Regions from separate parts of the Homo sapiens genome. Here regions 1, 2, 3 and 4 are each linked to region 5. The links are contacts of gene promoters, found by promoter capture Hi-C in blood cells and fetal thymus (Javierre and others, 2016). All regions are on one chromosome and are shown on one strand. Each heading gives the region's core, a stretch centred on a gene start or on the middle of the fragment in contact. The rest is flanking DNA. Distances are from core to core; before and after follow the strand shown.

Region 1 (2,700 bases), core at 55-2,554, 4.5 Mb before region 5:
GTTTTGCTTATCCATTCATCAGCTGATGGATATTTTACTTGCTTCCACCTTTTTGCTATTACAGACATTTTTGGATATCATGACTTGGAAGACGGTAATGGCATCTTGTAGATAGAGATCACAAATGTTGCAAACATTCTACAGTGCAAAAAGGTGGCTCTCACCACAACAAGGAATTTTCCAGTCCAAAATGCCAACAGTGCTGAGGTAGAGCACTATTGCTCTACCTCATTCTAGCATCCACTGCAGAATGATACAGAGCAAATGTTCTGGGGATCTCACTTTATCGATTCTGAGTTAACACCTGAATGAATCATCAATGTTATCAGTACTCAGGCCCTTACTGCTTCTCTATTTCAGTCAATTTCTAGAAGCTACTAGAACCCTGGCTCCCTTACCCCTTCCTCCCTTGCTCACTGCAGTTGAGTGCTTCTTGAAGGCTACTGGACCCTTCTATAAGCTTGTATAAACTTGAAGTCCAAACCATCATCTTTGCTTTCAATAAGCAGCTGGTATTAATCTCAGAAACTCGTCTTTCATTTCAGGATCTGGCTCCTGCCACAGGATTTTAAGTCTCTCCTAACAATAACATTTATATATATTGAGCTTTTAACACGAATTAGAACATGCATGATTACATTTAATTCTCATAACAATCTCATGCACTTGGCATTATTCTTATCTTTATTTCAGAGATACGCCCTAGAACTGTTAAATAACTTGCCCAAAGTTATGTGGTTAGTAAATGGCAAAGTAGGTCTTCAAAATTAGTTCTAATTCTCACACAAACTTTTTTACCCCAGTGTTATACACTCTGAACATCTATCACATTTGACTAAATATCACAATTAATGCAGGAATGAACCCCGTAGAGTCTTAAAGCCTGGGTCTACTGAGGGAAATCCCGGCAAACTTTCTTCACTCACTCTTAAAATAATCAATCAGGGAATTGCTTGGGTTGCTTTCAATTAGGAGAAGCAGAAAGACCAACAGAAAAACCCGAAGAATACAATAAGGAGCATTTCTTTCCTGGCAAAATCGTCACTGTAAGACAATTATTTTCACAGGTATAATTCCCAAGGAACTTTGGGGAGTTAGAAAGCTGGGCCTTAAACTGGGAGCACACTGGATACTTTTGTTTTATGTAACCATCTTGGTAACTTTCATTATTTTCTGCTATTAAAGAATTTTGTATCTTCTGCATGCGTTGATGTCTTTCCCTCACTCATATCATTGTCCTGCTGAAACCAGACAGACAGCAAACTTTTTGAATGCAGGAACTATGTCTCATTAATTCCTATACTGCATATAGTATCTCAGAGATAAAAGTTAAAAAATGTTTGTTAAATAATACAATTCTGCAAGTATGTTAGTGCCTTTCTGTCATGTAAAGGCTCAGATTTAGTGCTTTTCACCAAATACCTAGAATATCCAAACTAACTGTGAGCATATTACCTCAATTATGTCAGCAGAAACTTACAATCTAAGAACCTAATCCTAGAAAATTGCATTGCCCTAGACAGTATGGGTGCTTTACCCTCTTTGGAAAGTATTACATGCAAAATGAAACCAGACACAAGCAGTACCATTATTAATAAAAACATATGTTTGCACATTGTCTCATACTAGCTTCATGACAACATGTTAGAAGTTCAAAAGCTATATGAAAAAGATGTAACCCCAGCAATCATCACGGCAAAGCAGCTTCAAAGGTTAGCTGTAAGTCAATGACAAAGGCAGGATTCGAACTCTGTTACTAACACCTTGTTAGTCTACACTGCTACATTTAGGTCAACTGGCACATTAACGTGATGCAGTAGAGTAGCTCAGTAGAAACTTTTAATCAAGTAGCGAGAATGGGTAGTGTCAAGCGAAAAAGGGTTTTCTTTGCCCTGTTTGCTAGACTGATTTTATAACAAAGTGATACATTTACTTCTTATTGCTAAACTTCCCAACATTTTCTTATTATTTAACAAGTAACACCTACCCATAAAGGCTCTTTCTTCAAACCACAGGAACTTAATAATACTTACCACAAAACTTACATTTTTCCTAAAACATAATATTCAAATTTTAAAAATAGCATAATAACTTATTTGGCACATTTGTAAATTAGAATTATTAGTAATGTTCCATATGGAAAGCTTTCATGACATATTGCTAAAGATATGATAAAGCCTCTTTGCTCTTCTCTTTTACCTTTGTCTACATTATTTCAAATTCCGGTGATACTAAAGTTCTACTTACTTCTTCATTTTGAGGGGTTGTAGGAGGTCTTTCTAAATCCAGAAAATCTAGTGGTCTTTCACTCAGCGTAAGTACACGAGGTGGTGTTTTCAGTGCCAGGGGTTTAAAGGGAGTTGACTGAATAAGGTCAAGATCTGCTGGTCTTGAAAATGAAACATCTTCATTATTTCCTAGGAGTTTTCAAGAAAAGAGACAAAGAAGAGAAAAGCGGGAGGTTTTTTAAAAAGACAGTGATTTTTGTTAAAATGTATTTACCTTCTTCTGCTTTTGAATTATACCACCCAATAAGCATTAGTTTCTTTCAAAATATGCTTCCAGGCCGGGCGCGGTGGCTCACGCCTGTAATCCCAGCACTTTGGGAGGCCGAGGCGGGCGGATCACGAGGTCAAGAGATCGAGACCATCCCGGCTAAAACGGTGAAACCCCGTCTCTACTAAAAATACAAAAAAATTA
Region 2 (2,700 bases), core at 188-2,687, 4.6 Mb before region 5:
GAAATTGCACGGCAATAAAAATCTTTATCAAAATAAAGCTTAATGAAGCAAAGAACAACAAACACAAATCATCCCAGTAACTCAGGACGGTAGTGTCTTTCTGAAATCATGGTGACTTGCTAGCTCTCCTCATTTCTGTGTACAGCCAGGGCACTCGGGTATTGATAGCGAGATACAGATAAATCTCACAGATAACTCCATCATATTTAGAATCACACAGCTCCTAGTGGGTACCTTATTGCCATTAAAACTTTCCCCCAACTCCTCAACACTCTCTTCGGACCATAAAACTAAAATCCCACAGCTTCAAATCTGCTCCTCTGCCTCCCCCTCCCGCAATTAATCCTTTCGAACTTTTCCCAGGGGATTCACATCTGCCATCAAGATGCTTTCATCCTGCTACTATTCCTAAGTGCCTGCTTCCTCCCAGTTACGTAGGTACTCTCGACCCAGAAAAAAGGCACGGGCGAGGCAGGCGTCCCTCCCTCCCACCCCAGCTTCTCCCCGACCCCCAGCAGGAGCGCCCAGCAGGTGCCTCGCTCCGCACCGCGGCTCCCGGGCCGCTGAGAGGCGGGGCACACAAAGGACCCGCATGGACCTCCCCCCCGGCCTCCTAGCGTCTTCCCCCACCCCCCACAGCCCGGCGCCCCGGGTAGCTGGAGAGCGAGGGCGGCGGCCGCAGGCTCGACGGAGACCAGGGACGCTCGCCCCGGTCGCCCCCTCCCTGACCCCAACCCCGCCCACGTCCCACCCACGAAGGCTGCCCAGAACGTAAACCCTCGCCCGGCAAAACCGAAAACGCATCCCCAGCCCGGCTGCCCGGGCCCTGCGCATCCAGCCCGCAGCCTCCCACGCCGCGCCCGCCAGCCGGCGCCCAACGGCCGCCCCCGACCGCCTCCCACGGCACCCGGCTCTTTCCCAGCCCCGGAAGGGTCCCGGTCCCGCCGCCCGCTCCCCCACCTCCCGGGAAGGGCCCGACACCCGCCCGGCCGCCCCGCACTCACAGGCTGCCGGAGCAGGAGGTACACACGAAGGAGCCGACCGTCATGTTAACGTAGGTGGGGCCGCGCTGGTCGCAGTCGAAGCACTTTCGGTTGTGCGGGAGGCCGGTCATGTCCCGCAGCATCTTCAGGTGCTTCTCCTCCTGCTTCCGCTTCGCGCTGGCCGCCATGGCCGCGGCGCCAAGGGAGGAGGCCGGCAGGGCCGGGAGCCGGGCAGCGCTGCGCCGGGGGCCCGCGGTCCCACGGGCCGCCCTGGCCGCGGCCGCCGCCCTCCGTCTGCGCGCGCCGCCCGCGCCGGACCCGGCCGCAGCGGCTTGGCTGTACTGGGCTCGACGCGGCCCGGGCGCTGTGGTACGCGGGCTGACGGGCCACACCAACCGGCACAGCCGGGACAACCGCCGCCGCCGCCGCCACCTTCCCGACTTCTCCTGAGGGGAAAAGACGAGGAAGGGGACGGCAAGAGGAGGCCCGCCCTGGGCGGCCGGTAGCCAAGTGTCCGCTGGCGCCCTCTGCTGGCCAGGAGGAGTCACTGCGGCCTCGCTGAGGCATGGGCCGGGTCTGGAGCCAAGTAGGGTAGACACAATGGTGATAATAATATTAATAATAGACAGTATTTATTGAGCGCTTATATATGCAAAGCGTTTCACATGGGTTACCTTCCCCTTCTGTTTAAAACTCTTCAAGGGCTTTCCACTGCTTTGAGTATAATTCCAAATTCCTCACCGTGCCGTAAAAAGTGCTCCATAGTCTAGCCCAGTCTACCTCATTCTTCGTCGTCCTCACTCAGCCACACTGGATTTTGAGTTTTCTGAACACAGCAAGCTCCTTTCTGACTCCTGCAGGACCTTTGCCCTTGCTCTTCTCTCTTTATCTTTGGGCCAGCTAATTTGGGGGGGCTTGGGGTGTCCTGTGCACTGTAGGATACTGGGCGGCGTTCCTAGCCTATACCCACTAGATACAAGAACAAACCCCCCAATTCCCATTGCTGGCAACCAAAAATCCCCAGACATTGCCAAAAGTGGAGGGAACTTTAGGGCGGTGCAGTCACCTGGCTTGAGAACTGCTGCGTGTGGAAACCCGGATCATCCATAGCTGACATCCTCTAAGTCAGGTGGGGCTCAGATGTCACCTCCCCCGCCAGACTGTCCCAGATCAGCCGAGTTAATGTTGCAGCTCACCTTTCTCGAAGTTGCTCTCCATCAAATTGCTGCGTTGTATTTTCGTCTCAGTTCTAGCTATTTGAAATACTGCATCTTATTTCGTGTTTACCATGGGTGATCTGGACTCTCCCTTTAGGCGCTAAACAGCCTGGCCCCCGTATTTTCTGTGCCACTCCACCCCATTCCCCTCGCAGAGCTGGAGACTAGGTGTTCAATGTTGACGGAATGAATACATGAAATCGTTCATGTAATCTTCACAACAACCCTTCGAGGTGAGCGTTATTGTTATTTACATTTTACAAAACAGGAAGATGAAACCCTGAGGGATTAAGTAAATTTACCCAAGGGTACCTATGGCGAAGCTCAATTCCAACCCAGACAGCCAGACTGCAGGACCCAAATCCCCACTGCAACAATCAACTTCGTCTCTCGTTTTCCAAAGGAGTACAGGGAGACCCAGAGAGCTGAAGTTCTCAAATCACTGGGCTGTTGAATGGATTAGAATCTACGTTTCCTAACAGCCAAGACCAACCTCCACA
Region 3 (2,700 bases), core at 77-2,576, 4.0 Mb before region 5:
AGCGAGCGGGTCGCGGCCGCCTACCCAACGGACGCCTCTGCCCAGGTTCTCTGCCGGGAAGCTTCGTCCTTCCGGGCCCCAGCGCAGCCGGAGGCTGGGGAGCTGCTGCCTGGAAGGGTCAGATACCGCCTGTTAGGCGGAGGGTGGGAAAGACACTCTCCTGCTTCAGGAGCTATCGCAGACAACCGGAGGGCGGCTTATCGCAGAGTCCCAGAGCCAGCCAGCAAGGCAAGGTCGCGGGTGCACCTTTCACTCCCAGAAGCTTGGGTCTGGGACTGCACCACGCAACGTTTGCCCATTTTGAGGGCTTTAGGTGTTTCATATTTCAGTTAATAGAATTTCGATTAATACATAATTTGATACCATTTTAATTGTTTGCTACTCGGGAGCAAGTTTTATGTTTAGCTGTAGGAGTTAGGCTAAGTTAAATGTTGCAATGCTATATATATTTAATAGGATATGAAAAAACTATCTTACAGCCGGGCGCGGTAACTCACGCCTGTAATCCCCGCACTTTGGGAGGTCGAGGCAGGAGGATCGCTTGAGCTCAGGAGTTTGAGACCAGCCTGGACAACATAGTGAGACCTTGTCTCTATTTAAAAAACAACAACAGGCCTGGCGCGGTGGCCCACGCCTGTAATCCCAGCACTTTGGGAGGCTAAGGCGGGCGGATCACCGGAGGTCAGGAATTCAAAACCAGCCTGGCCAACATGGCGAAACCCTGTCTCTACTAAAAATACAAAAATTAGCCAGGCATGGTTGCGGGCGCCTGTAATCCCGGCTACTCGGGAGGCTGAGGCAGGGGAATCCTTGAACCCGGGAGGCAGAGGTTGCAGTGAGATCGCGTCCATGCACTCCAGCCTGGGCGACAGAGCATGACTCTATCTCAAAAAAAAAAAATCTTACTATTTGGTATGGAATTTTCTGATAGCTAGGGTAAAGATGCTCTTTTTCCAAGAAGGAATCCGAGTATCCGAATACAGGTGGTTTAGTGTTACTCTTTGTTTATTGGAAGTTGTAGCAGCTGTGTTTAGATAGTCTGCTAAAACAAAAACTGCCTAAACCAGAAGAGTTTATCTTTTGCCATTGTGTATTAAAACTCTTCATAGAAATATTTATTTTGGAGTTTGAAATTTAAGTGAAAATGTGGCTCATGCATAGGTGTGGGTGTACATATGACTTTCAAGTGACAAAGAAGATTCTTAGCAAATTGTACGTGTTCATTAAGACTCATAAGTTACCTCTTTCCTAGAAAAACAATATACTCCTCCAAAAGCTCAACTGACAATGAGAAACTGCATTTCTGGACATGAAAAGTCAAATGAATGCGGGGAAAAGTAAATTGCCTATAGAGGTATTTTCTGTATTTCCCTAGAGGGGGAAATGTGTAATTTCTCAAAAGGAAGAAGTCCTCATTTATCCTTCTGAACCACAATCATATGAATCCATTCAATTAATATTAATCTTATCTTCTATTCTCCATCACTCTCTACATCTTTCTATAATTGCATCATTTTCTTGTCCGTATAATACATCAAATGCAGAGGTGATTTTAAGGGAGCCACAAATCAAGAAGTCTCAATTCAATAATTTCGTTAAAATGTAAGAAATATATACGGATTAAGAATATTCTTAGGTAATTATGTTCTGTTTCAAATATCAGTGAAAATTTTCATAGACATTTAAGGGGTAAAAGACATTTAACAGATAGAAAAAAATATCTACCTTTTAAAAAATGACCTTCTCTTTTGTCCTACGTGATTTGTTGAGCAGACTGGGTTTTTTAAAAGTTTCTGTTGAAATGAGCATGTTGTAACATGCTCATATCCCATTTCAATTGACAAATATCACTTGGATAATAATTGTATATCTTAAATATGAACATATGAAGCAATCAGCAGCAGCATCCTTTCACTGAGCAAGGCTTAAAAATACCAAAGAATCAGTGCCAGAAGAAATTCTTTAACTTAAAATATACGTAATCACTACATTACCATATAAAACAATGATTTCTAAATGCTGGAAAGTATATATCTTAATCATGAGACGAGGCAGCACTATGCACATTGTGCATAATATGTGAGACATTGAATGGTATAAAATAAATTTTAACTTTTATCTAAGGTTTACAGGAAAAGCAGCAATACCTATGATTAAGCCACCCGACTTAAATGAGTGTTTTTAAGATGTGGTGCTTGCACATAAGCGGAGGAGTGGTGGTAACAACCCTTGTACAGTTCACAAATCCAGGACTGGCAGGAAGGTAGACAAGTGTCATTCTCAGATTTCAGAACCCAGCCTGAAAGTGAGAGGACGTCAGGCAACAATACCATGCAACGACAGCGTGCAACAAATACACAACTGGATTATCTTTTTAAGGGAGAAGCTTGTTTGGGTTTCTAATTGCTTTTAATGAACCAAGTATTGATTACTGTTTTACCCAAAACTGTACCAAAATATGTGTAAAACTGATAAGATAATTTATAGCTTTCTAGTTATGGAAAAGCTTGCAAATTAAATAATTCAAATCTCAATTTAAGAACTGTAAAAATGAGAAATTGGTTCATGTACCATAGTGATAATAATACCAACAATACTTAACAGTAGACTATGCAGACACTAACCATAAGAGATTTGTAGTGGCTATACTAATATCAGATGAAACAGACTTTAAGAAAGAAATTTCTTTTTCTTTTTTCT
Region 4 (2,700 bases), core at 160-2,659, 3.9 Mb before region 5:
GCGCGCTCCCCCGCGGCCCGCCGGGTCCCAGCCACTGAGCATGCCCAGCGCCTCGACTGCTGAGTGCCCAGCCAGCATCCTGCAGTGCCTGGGAGCCTGAGGCCGAGGAGGGTCCCGGCGTAGTAAAGGGGCGGCAACCCCAAACGGGCCAGGCATCAAAATGAGACAGCATTAAACCGAGTGACATCTCTGTGGGTCCTTAGTGCCAGGCGAGCAAGCAGGGACAAACTGCTTGTTTATAGGTCGGCTTAAAAAATAAAAAAACTCTGGGGAGCGTTTGTTTGTGGGGAGACTGATACCGCAAGGTGACCCTGAAAGGGGCGCTTCAAGTAGACCCAGGCTGCTGATCTGGTCCACTCATGAAGTAACCATTTTCCTGTACAGTTGAGCTGGCACCATCCTTGTTTTCTCCCTGTTATCCTTGTGGTCAAGGTTAAAAACTTATAGGGTGGTTCAATGGGTGTGGGAGCTGTGTGTGAAACAAACATTTCAGCCAATATTTGCACAGTAGGGTTTTGGCCTTATGAACCCTCTGAAGGTCCCTAACAGCTTTTTAAAGTCACGGATAGACTTCGGAATATGATAAGGGACCTCTCATTTCCCCTCCCCCATGCCCTCAGCCTTAGGTGTGAGTCCCCCCGTCACACGGATGGGCAAGGGGAGCAGGAGAAAAGGTGATATTTACATTTTCTCCCTACTTGATCAGCAACTAATTCCACAGCGCCGGACGTGAGACACTTCCTGGGGATCCCTGTTCTCCTTTTGTAGTGACCATAACTGCCCCCAGTCACTGCCCTTGGGCGTCCCTCTGTTCCTTCCAGGTACCTCACGGCAGCAAATCTGGGGATCCCAAGGTGGAAGGCTGGCCCAGAAGTCCTTTAGAAAAACCTTAAAAAATACAGATCCCCTCACCATGGCCTATCGCCCTGAAGCCGAAATCTAGCTTTTAAATTTCCTGGGGGAAACAGCCTTGACTAGAAACCTCCCTCCCGTGGGTCAGTCTTACCTGATAGGTAAGAGGCAGCCCAGCTCCGGCGCCCCCGCCTCCCCCCGGCCTCCCACTCGGGGCTCTGTAGCCGCAGTGCCCCCCCGTGGCCCCCCACCCTCACTCCTGCGTCTTCCCGAGCTCGCCCCCTCCCGTTTTCCCAGACTCCCCTCGTGCTTTCGGGTAGCCACCCAAACACCCCCGCCTGCGCCCGCCGCGGGGATTCCTGCGGGCCGGGGGCGCCCCGGTTGGCGCGCGTGTAGGGAGGCGCTGCGCCGGAGCTGGCGGCCGCGCAGGGGCGCTGTCCTAGCGCTGCGCCGGGGTCGGCGCGGGCGCCGCTGCAGCACGGCTGGGGGGCGGAGAGGGGCGGGCGCGGGGCGGGCTCGGCCCGGAATGTAGAGACCCGGGCGGGAGCCTCCCGGCGGCGGCTGCCCGGCTGCCGAGCGCGGAGGCTCCGTCACGTGTTTTTCTCCTCCGAGTGAGACGGCGGCGCGGTCGGAGGGGGCCGGCGCGCAGAGCCAGACGCCGCCGCTTGTTTTGGTTGGGGCTCTCGGCAACTCTCCGAGGAGGAGGAGGAGGAGGGAGGAGGGGAGAAGTAACTGCAGCGGCAGCGCCTCCCGAGGAACAGGCGTCTTCCCCGAACCCTTCCCAAACCTCCCCCATCCCCTCTCGCCCTTGTCCCCTCCCCTCCTCCCCAGCCGCCTGGAGCGAGGGGCAGGGATGAGTCTGTCCCTCCGGCCGGTCCCCAGCTGCAGTGGCTGCCCGGTATCGTTTCGCATGGAAAAGCCACTTTCTCCACCCGCCGAGATGGGCCCGGATGGGGGCTGCAGAGGACGCGCCCGCGGGCGGCGGCAGCAGCAGCAGCAGCAGCAGCAGCAACAGCAACAGCCGCAGCGCCGCGGTCTCTGCGACTGAGCTGGTATTTGGGCGGCTGGTGGCGGCTGGGACGGTTGGGGGGTGGGAGGAGGCGAAGGAGGAGGGAGAACCCCGTGCAACGTTGGGACTTGGCAACCCGCCTCCCCCTGCCCAAGGATATTTAATTTGCCTCGGGAATCGCTGCTTCCAGAGGGGAACTCAGGAGGGAAGGCGCGCGCGCGCGCGCGCTCCTGGAGGGGCACCGCAGGGACCCCCGACTGTCGCCTCCCTGTGCCGGACTCCAGCCGGGGCGACGAGAGATGCATCTTCGCTCCTTCCTGGTGGCGGCGGCGGCTGAGAGGAGACTTGGCTCTCGGAGGATCGGGGCTGCCCTCACCCCGGACGCACTGCCTCCCCGCCGGGCGTGAAGCGCCCGAAAACTCCGGTCGGGCTCTCTCCTGGGCTCAGCAGCTGCGTCCTCCTTCAGCTGCCCCTCCCCGGCGCGGGGGGCGGCGTGGATTTCAGAGTCGGGGTTTCTGCTGCCTCCAGCCCTGTTTGCATGTGCCGGGCCGCGGCGAGGAGCCTCCGCCCCCCACCCGGTTGTTTTTCGGAGCCTCCCTCTGCTCAGCGTTGGTGGTGGCGGTGGCAGCATGGCGAGCCCTCCGGAGAGCGATGGCTTCTCGGACGTGCGCAAGGTGGGCTACCTGCGCAAACCCAAGAGCATGCACAAACGCTTCTTCGTACTGCGCGCGGCCAGCGAGGCTGGGGGCCCGGCGCGCCTCGAGTACTACGAGAACGAGAAGAAGTGGCGGCACAAGTCGAGCGCCCCCAAACGCTCGATCCCCCTTGAGAGCTGCTTC
Region 5 (2,700 bases), core at 77-2,576:
GCTTAGATTTCAGAGCTCTGGATTTACACAGGCCTGTCTGAATCCCAGCTTCTTACTAGCTGAGATCTGAGGCAAGCTAAGTCGTCCAATCTGCAGTTTCTCCCGCTGTAAAATGGGAATAACCCCCACCCCAGAGGACTGTTAACAGTGTGAAGACACTGTACATAAAGCTCTCCAAACAGTGCGTGGCATGTAATAAAAGCTCAATAAATGTCAGCTATTTGTCATTCTTTTCAGCTATAATTTCGTTCACAAAGCCTACTGCCTTTCTAGCTTCCATATAATTTTAAAGACATTCCTCCAGCCTTTTCATTTTCGAGGGATCTTTTATACAGCAGCTTAGAGCACACTTTCTAGTATCAGACTTCCTGCGAAAACCATTTGAAAACCTGTGCCTCGGGCTCCTCATCTGTGAAACGAGCCTGATAACACCTACCCCACAGGACTGCTGGTAGTAAGCAGTCCCCGAGTTACCCAACCTATCAACAGTATATGATTAAAACGCACTTGGGGAAAAGCAAAGCTGCAACTCTCAAACCCCAAACGACAGTCTTAATCCCAGTCCCACCACCACGATAGTGCCCAGAACCAATCACCAAGGTCGACCCACCTCACGCACCTAGTTTCTTCTCACCCCACGCAGCAACAGCCCCTCCCGCCCCGCCAAACAAGGGTTTTCCGAAATCGCAGGGCTGAGTCTCCTTCCACGGACACCGCACTGCTGGGGCCGCGGCAGAGCCCTCTTAATTCAAGGGGGTGGCCTCCCCACCCCGCCCCACAGCGCCGGGAGGCACGCAGTGCATCCTCCCTGCCTGGTCAGCGCCGCCCCACGCCGTTCGCGCTGCAGCTCCCGGCTCGCGTGGGCTCAGGGCCGAGGCCCCACGTCAGCCGCTTCCCGGACCCCAGCGGGCCGCCTCCCACCCTGCTCGCCGCTGCTCCTGGTGCCGCGGGCCGCCCGCGCGCACACCCAGCGGTCAGGTGCGGCGCCGACGACAGGGTCCCAGGCCCCGAGGCTGGGGAGCCCCTCGGGCCCAGCCGAACCGCACGCGGAGGCCGCGCCGCCAACCGGCTCCCGCCGCTCCCACAACCGGCGCCGCACTCACCGCTACGCCGGAGTCCGGGTTCCTCCGGCCTCGGGCCCGCGCAGGCCTGGCTGAGCCCCAGAGCGTTCACGCCCCGCGCCGCCGCCCGGGGATCCTGGCGCAGCTGTCGGGGCCGCAATGCGAGGGGACGAACGTATGCGACCCCGTCCAACGCCTCCTCGTCCCGGCCCCGGCCGCGTAGACAACTGCAGTGTCGCAGCCCGGCGCAGCCACAGCAGCGTCTGTTGAGCGGAACCGCCTGGGACGCTCACCCCCGGCCGGCACTCGTTGCCTATGCAGAGAGGCTGCCACCCATTGGCCCGCGAGCGGTGGCGCGTGCGGGGCTGGGCCTATCGAATTCGGGCCGGGGAGCGCGGCGCTGGCGGCCCGGGGCGGGGCGAGGTTACTACGGGTCATTCCGCGGAGCCGCCGCGGACCGGACCTGGCTGCAGTCTGCGCGGGGCGGGGGCGGGAACGGGGTCGACCAGGAGGGACGGACCGCGGGTGGGGGAGGGGAGCGGGGATCTGCGGCAGCGACGTGGGAGGAGCGGCTAGCCCAATAGGGTCTGCAGGAGCTCCGTCCCTCCAGGAAAAAACACCCCTCCACCAAAAAAAAAAAAAAAAAAATTACAGTCGCACAATTATTGCTGTAATGTATAAATTTCAATATAAATTATGAAATAGTATGCATATTCTTTTTCGTTTTTAACTGGATTAGTTATCCCGTTCTTGCAGAAATTGCTGTCAAATCCTGCCAAATAAAATGGCTTTTGGAACTGCCTGGGGCAAGAAGAGCCTCAAAAACTCAAAGCTTATCCATTATCATTTCTCTTGTTTTGGCCTCACTTGACCTAGCATATAACCCGTTTTCCTCTAAATGCACTCACCATGCAAATTTGCTATTTCTTTTCAAAAAATAAAGTTTACTCCAAATTATTGTTTTTGAACGTTCTTAGGAATCCACAGTGGTTCTGTATTTTAAGGAGTTTGCCATTGTTTCTCGTTTTAGACACTAAACAAGGATAAGAAAGAAAGCATCCAGTGCAGGTAGTAGAACTACATGTACTGTAAGAGAGAAGATTTTCACTCACCCAGTACTAGTAGGATTGGTCTCTTTTTTTAACCCAACATATTGTTTAGTTTGCCTGTGAACTTTTCCTTAAGTAGGTGAAAGGTTGCCTTCCTGAGCCAGCCTCAGGCTAAAGCAGGCCTCATTTCCCAAGAGAATCAAAATCAGGAAGCCGCCAGAACTTGAACTAGGTGGAGCGATGATGCACCAAGCAAAGAGAGCTCACTCACCGTGGGCCAAGGGCCAATCGAGAACCTAAAGGGATGGATACCTGACTCAGGCAAACTGTTCTCCCACTTCAAAATATGGCAGTTCAGTTGCTCATTAATCTGTTGAAATCTTATCAAAGGATACATCCTGAAGATAAATGGAATGCAGAATTTCTTATCTGAAAAGACATTCGCAGCTCTGCAGAGAGAAGCAGGCTTTAGAAGTAGTACTTCTAGAACCATGAAATCCTCTGGAAAATACTGGTTTTTTTCCGAGAGAAGAAAACTAATATTGCACCTTTTTATCTATCCATAAGCCTAAAACAGACTAGAAGAATTC

Evidence for each region. The method cuts DNA at HindIII sites, captures the fragments that hold promoters and counts their contacts. A CHiCAGO score of 5 or more calls a contact.
Region 1: a fragment that was not itself captured here is called in contact with the fragment with the promoter of ACSL3 in region 5 in 1 of 17 cell types (naive CD8 T cells); the score reaches 6.2 in naive CD8 T cells.
Region 2: the fragment with the promoter of AGFG1 here is called in contact with the fragment with the promoter of ACSL3 in region 5 in 3 of 17 cell types (naive CD8 T cells, total CD8 T cells and non-activated CD4 T cells); the score reaches 7.9 in naive CD8 T cells.
Region 3: a contact is called between a fragment that was not itself captured here and the fragment with the promoter of ACSL3 in region 5, in 2 of 17 cell types (total CD4 T cells and fetal thymus). The highest score is 8.6, in total CD4 T cells.
Region 4: a contact is called between the fragment with the promoter of IRS1 here and the fragment with the promoter of ACSL3 in region 5, in 1 of 17 cell types (naive CD8 T cells). The highest score is 6.0, in naive CD8 T cells.

Annotation. Positions count from the first base shown.
Region 1 is chr2:227,332,136-227,334,835 of GRCh38, reverse strand. MFF (mitochondrial fission factor) reads right to left here. Exons shown (of 9, transcript NM_001277062.2): 4 at 2,248-2,417. Among named protein-coding and RNA genes, the nearest start is that of MFF, 8.2 kb to the right of the region's middle. The HindIII fragment of the contact is 1,684 bases long and covers 463-2,146 here.
Region 2 is chr2:227,470,893-227,473,592 of GRCh38, reverse strand. AGFG1 (ArfGAP with FG repeats 1) reads right to left here and starts at 1,437. Exons shown (of 13, transcript NM_004504.5): 1 at 1,005-1,437. The coding sequence starts at 1,171. It overlaps MIR5703 (microRNA 5703), which reads right to left and starts at 1,461; the gene lies at 1,406-1,461. It overlaps LOC124907994 (a long non-coding RNA gene), which reads left to right and starts at 1,494. Exons shown (of 2, transcript XR_007088114.1): 1 at 1,494-2,433; 2 at 2,604-2,700. RefSeq lists a silencer at 729-1,448 and an enhancer at 1,561-2,524. The HindIII fragment of the contact is 6,204 bases long and covers 41-2,700 here.
Region 3 is chr2:226,832,988-226,835,687 of GRCh38, reverse strand. It overlaps a transcript of RHBDD1 not described here. Among named protein-coding and RNA genes, the nearest start is that of RHBDD1, 1.7 kb to the left of the region's middle. RefSeq lists enhancers at 112-181, 21-315. The HindIII fragment of the contact is 2,124 bases long and covers 265-2,388 here.
Region 4 is chr2:226,798,529-226,801,228 of GRCh38, reverse strand. It overlaps IRS1 (insulin receptor substrate 1), which reads left to right and starts at 1,409. Exons shown (of 2, transcript NM_005544.3): 1 at 1,409-2,700. The coding sequence starts at 2,491. It also overlaps a transcript of RHBDD1 not described here. RefSeq lists silencers at 1-80, 1,041-1,110, 1,131-1,550, 2,541-2,590. The HindIII fragment of the contact is 8,747 bases long and covers 1-2,700 here.
Region 5 is chr2:222,859,662-222,862,361 of GRCh38, reverse strand. ACSL3 (acyl-CoA synthetase long chain family member 3) reads right to left here and starts at 1,326. Exons shown (of 17, transcript NM_004457.5): 1 at 1,104-1,326. RefSeq lists silencers at 831-1,200, 1,271-1,600 and an enhancer at 1,317-1,611. The HindIII fragment of the contact is 2,380 bases long and covers 1-1,895 here.